Linked DNA regions of Homo sapiens: region 2 is linked to region 1. The links are contacts of gene promoters, found by promoter capture Hi-C in human tissues and cell types (Jung and others, 2019). All regions are on one chromosome and are shown on one strand. Each heading gives the region's core, a stretch centred on a gene start or on the middle of the fragment in contact. The rest is flanking DNA. Distances are from core to core; before and after follow the strand shown.

The links. The method cuts DNA at HindIII sites, captures the fragments that hold promoters and counts their contacts. A contact is called where the count stands out against the background at its distance.
Region 2: a contact is called between a fragment that was not itself captured here and the fragment with the promoter of PSMA6 in region 1, in 1 of the 25 tissues and cell types used here (dorsolateral prefrontal cortex).

Annotation. Positions count from the first base shown.
Region 1 is chr14:35,291,006-35,293,705 of GRCh38, reverse strand. PSMA6 (proteasome 20S subunit alpha 6) reads right to left here and starts at 1,324. Exons shown (of 7, transcript NM_002791.3): 1 at 1,154-1,324. The coding sequence starts at 1,229. All of the region lies in intron 9 of PRORP-PSMA6 (PRORP-PSMA6 readthrough), which reads right to left. RefSeq lists enhancers at 861-920, 1,001-1,120, 1,241-1,320, 1,037-1,623. The HindIII fragment of the contact is 27,585 bases long and covers 1-2,700 here.
Region 2 is chr14:34,709,114-34,711,851 of GRCh38, reverse strand. CFL2 (cofilin 2) reads left to right here. Exons shown (of 4, transcript NM_138638.5): 4 at 1-2,738. Among named protein-coding and RNA genes, the nearest start is that of CFL2, 4.1 kb to the left of the region's middle. The HindIII fragment of the contact is 3,096 bases long and covers 1-2,738 here.

The DNA of each region.
Region 1 (2,700 bases), core at 75-2,574:
TTTTCAATTGGGGATAAATTAAAAGGGCTACTGAATTATCCAACAAGATGTTTCTTGCTACATTATATACACTATGCAGTAATACACTGAGCAGTTTCATTCCAAGTTATCTTTAACTCTATTTCTAAAATTTACAGGTGAAGAGAACCTCATTTACAGACCAACTCTCTCCTTATGATTCCAAGCACAGATGATTATATTACTGTGCAAGACACGGAGCCACTAAACTCATTCAAAAATAAAACCATCACGGACCAGATGTAAATCAAGCCCTCCTGACACTAAATTCTCTATGGTAAGAGATCAAGGGTCTGGCTTATAATCATAACCTAAACCTTGACACCGTTTCAGCGCAATACATTACTATTCCGAGTAACTGATAGTTTCTTTCCACTACAGGTGTTCTTCAGTAAACTAGTACACAGTACCTCATCTACAACTCAGAATCGGCATTTAAATTACAGGAGCATTCAAACAGATGTGGGTAAAAAGGGGATGCCAATCTCAAGAGCAGCTCTAGAATTGAGTCACTCATTCTATCAGATTCCCAAAGATGTCTTGAACTCTGTAGATATTTGTAAATTGGCACTTTTAATTTTTTTTATCCGTTTGTTTAACGTATCTGTCACTCTAAGCTGTGAGCTTCAGTATAGAAGAGGGTGTAACATTCACATTTGTATCTCCTAGGACTAGCAGTGTCTGGTATATAGCAGGCTTCGAGTGCCTGTGTGGAATTAACCACAGAAGTCCATGCTGCAAACAAAGGAAAACGGAGAGGAGGCATTTTAGTTGAGACGTTAAGGAATCAATTACCCTTTAGAAACAGACCTTGTGCCTGGCCAGGACAGAATACAATAACTGAAGGGGCCTCACGAAGCCGGAGTCAGGCATTACAGCCCTATCTTCCTTAACTCTCCATTGGGTCTACGCAGTGTGGCCGCTCGCCCTGCAGAGACAGGCCTTCAGGCCCCCGATCCCTGCGTCCAGACGGGGGTGCAAACACCACAGAGCTCAATCCAGCTTCAGCCGTTCTCCCTTCCCAGCTCCAGCCCAGCTTCGGCCCCAGACTAAACCCGGGCCGCGTCTGCTCGCTCCAGGCACGTACCATGACAGGGCAATTCAGGTGGCCCACAGGCGAACCTGGTTCACTCACCTACTTGGTAGAGCCGACCCTCGGGTGAAAAAATGGTAATGTGGCGGTCAAAACCGGCGCTGGAACCACGGGACATGTTGGTAGAAGCACTACTTTAAACACAATCCCTGGGCCCCGTAGCTCCCGCACCAGGCACACAAGCACCTCCCGGAAGTTGCAGCGACTGCTTCCGGGGTACCAGCCGCGTTTCTTCCGCTCTTGCATGCCGAACTCACGGCTCTGGAGCCAGTTCGAGCACTGAGCTCTGAGGCCCCGCCCCCTAAGGGGGTGGTGGAGTGAGGGCGGGAGGCCTTTGAAGGTATGCGCCTGCGCCAAGCAGGCCTCTTGAGTGGATAGACGTGAAACTTGGGTCGTGGCGCTTTCAGGCTTTCATCTGGAGAATGAATTGACTATAGCAAGGACGAAAAGGCTTCCTGGGGGCCCAGAATAGCGATTTGCCTATCAGTGTGACCTAAATAGAACGTGTAATTAACAAGTCTCTTACATGCATCCTGTGTCTGGTCAGACTGCTGGCTTGCCTTCTTCCTAACCTCTTTTATCCTCCACTTTCATTCCTATTACGGGGGAAACAGGTTGCAGCTGCAGCTGCAGCCGTTAAATTTAGGCACTGAAGGAAGCGGGTTCAAGCAGCCGCTGGAAAGAACATTATTTTCTGACAGCCAGGCAAGATCTTCTTTTGGCCAGCAGCCCCGACAATTTTTAGTCTTTTTTTTTTTTTTTTTTTTTTTTGAGACAGAGTTTCGCCCTTGTTGCCCAGGCTGGAGTGCAATGGCGCGATCTCGGCTGACTGCAACCTCCCCCTCCTGAGTTCAAGCGATTCTCCTGCCTCATCCTCCCGAGTAGCTGGGATTATAGGCGTGTGCCACCAGGACCGGCTAATTTTGTATTTTTAGTAGAGGCGGGGTTTCGCCATGTTGGTCAGGCAGCTCTCGAACTCCTGAGCCCAAGTGATCCACCTTCCTCGGCCTCCCAGAGTGCTGGGATTACAGGCTTGAGCCACAGTGCCCAGGCAATTTTTAGTCTTGAAAGCGGAGGCCGGGCGCGGTGGCTCACGCCTGTAATCCCAGCACTTTGGGAGACCAAGGCGGGCGGATCACGAGGTCAGGAGATTGAGACCATCCTGGCTAACACGGTGAAACCCCGTCTCTACTAAAAAATACAAAAAAAATTAGCCAGGCGTGGTGGCGGGCGCCTGTAGTCCCATATACTTGGGAGGCTGAGGCAGGAGAACGGCGTGAACCGGAGAGGCGGAGCTTGCAGTGAGCCGAGATCATGCCACTGCACTCCAGCCTGGGCGACAGAGCGAGACTCCGTCTCAAAAAAAAAAAAAAAGAAAGAAAGCCTAACTCCAGCCTGGCCAACATAGGAAGGCCCCGTCTCTACAAAAAATAAAATTAGCTGTGCGTGGTGGCGCGCGCCAGTAGTCCCAGCTACTCGGGGGGCTAAGGTGGGAGGATGGCTTGAGCCCAGGAGATCCAGGTTGCAGTGAGCTATGATCACGCCACTGCACTCCAGCCTGGGCGACAGAGGAAGATCTATCTAAATAA
Region 2 (2,738 bases), core at 80-2,579, 580 kb after region 1:
TTAAAAAGTATTCTATCTTAAGGCCAACTAATATAAAATACCATTGTTAAAGAATGGTACTTTTATAAACATTAGTGTATTTATTTCCTATGTGTTAATATGAAGATCAGAAATTATTTTTTGCACTTTGGCATAAATACTTTTCAATATCTGATTTGTTCTCTGGATAAATTAGCATAGTTATTTTTTTATTCACATTTACATTTCTAAGTAGTTGTATAGTAGAAGCAGGAAGCTCTTATTGCTTATTTGGTCGTAATGAAAATAATTTGTAAAATGTCCTTTAAAAGTTTAATGATACTTCTGATGTTTCGGAACAGTCATTTCACCTACTATTTCTGAATATATTTTGCAAATTGAATTGGAATAGGAATTGATAATAGCAGTCTTAAACATTAGTAGTGGGATTTGGCTATGGTCCAGACTGTGCTCCTTATAGAGAATTTGATCTGCTCAGTGTGAGCGGTTTGCTGTTAGCCAGGGCTATTTATGGCAAACACATGCTTTTGTATCTTGTCATAGTTATCCACAAATGGCAAAACTGGACTTGATTCTACTGGTATGCAAAACAGGCATGCTAGTAAGCAGTCAGTCGTGGCTCAGAACTTAACCCCATAGCTCAGAGGAATGCTTTTAGCAGAAAACAGGAAAGAAAATATCCCTTAAAAATTTTTTTTGAATGTGTGGAAGTAATTTTAGTATAATTAGATTTTTTCCATATTTTTGAAAGATTTTTCAGATGTGAACATTAAAAATAGGGATTAAATGTCTAGGCTTCCATTTAAAATTATATGAATGGTTTGGGATCTTTTTGCACTGAGCAATTTTATTTCAGGCTTCCAGCTGTCCCTGTGAGTTATCCTGGACATTTCGATGGTTTTTGGTAAGGCCAAACTCTGATAAGCAAAACAGAGAATACTGACGTATACTTAACCATATGTGTAACTGATACTTGGCACCATGGAATTTTTCATTGAGTTATTTCCTCATTCTTTTAAAAAATAAGGGACTATAAATCAGTTATGTAGTATCTTTTGTTTTTGTAGCTGATTCCTTAACTTTCTTGTATGCCTCTAGTAATTTCAGAGATTAAATATTGCTTTAAACTGTGATACTTTGATTTGCTAGATTGACAAAACTGATACTAATATAATTAAGTTCATCTTTGAAATACATCTTTGTGCGTAGAGCCAAAAAAAGAGATAAAATTAATAATAGTTCACTTGTTATTTGAGATTAATTTGGCATTTGAAATGATCATTTTATTTTACAATCATTTATAATGAATCAATGTTCCAGTTAGCTTTAAAAGGTATACGGTGCTAATTAGTAAAATATTGAAGGCAATATTTTACTGCTAGCTTGCAAAGTTATGAGAGTTTAAAAAATAAAATATATGAAAATATGTAAAGCTGTTGAGATGTGTTTACTTATACTTCAGAACATTAAAAGTTTAAAAACTGGTATTTCAGATCAAAGAGGCATCATTATCTTTATTCTGTTTTTCAGGATTTTAGTTGGTAATACTTTCTCATTTATCAATAACAATTTTCTTTAAAAACTGAGTGTTACAGCAATTAATTTTAGCATTTTCAGACAAATGGGAACAGTTGGCATGTGTCCCAAACTGGCTATCAGCTGTTGTTTTCCATCATTATCTAAAATAGTGTGGCCAGCATTGTGTATTGAAATGTGCCTTTTTCGTACATTGGAAGAGAAGCCTCTTACTGGGTTTGAGTTTCTCTGATACAGAACATTTGTAGCAGCTAATTTATGGAATCTGGCAAATAAGCTTTGGGAGGAAATTCTTTTAAAAGTGTTTTCTTGTTAAGGAATAATCTCAACAATGGTAAATCATCAAGAGGTTGAGAAGACTCTTAGGTTTGCCACTCAGAAAAAACAGTCTCATTTTGCTCTTCATAGGTCCTGTTTTTGCTTGCACATTTAATAGTAGGTGGAGATGCAAAACAACGTGAATGTTCATTTTTTTATGAATAGTATTAAAGCTACTAGAGGTGGGCAGGCAGGTCCCAGTAAATGTTGCCTTTTTTTTTTTTTTTTTTTGAGACAGGGTCTCACTCTGTTGCCCAGGCTGGAGTGCAGTGTCAAAATTTCAGCTCACTTCAAACTCAACCTTCCCAGCTCAGATGATCCTCCCACCTCAGCCTCCCAAGTAGCTGGGACTACAGGCATGCACCACCATGCCTAATTTTTTTTTTTTTTTTTTTTGTATCTCTTTTGTAGAGACTGAGTTTGGCCATGTTGCCTAGGCTGATCTCCAACTCCTGGGCTCAAGCTGTCCTCTGACCTCCGCCTCCCAAAAGTGCTAGGATTGCATGCATGAGCCACCACTTCAAAAGCTCAAATACTGCTTTTGAAGACAGCATGAGTTTATGGATGTTCTGTCTCCTTTCAGCCCATAAAGAAGTCTGAGGCTTTTCTTTTGCTCTGGAACATCCAACTAATTGCTTTATTTCCATGTAGAAGTAGAGGAATCATCCCTCCACTTAAATTTCCTCTCATAATGCAATTTGGCAAATTAAATCTCTAAATCTCAGTTTTTTAACCCATAGTATGGGAACGGTAATATCTGTTTACCATGTTTCCTGAGTACTAAATATGGAAATGGTTTTTGAAAACAGGAAAATGCTATGTAAATGCAATAATCTGTTTAAACTATTCATTCTTAATTACTGTATGTAAGTAGATAAATATTAAATGTTTTTGTTAAAAGATGT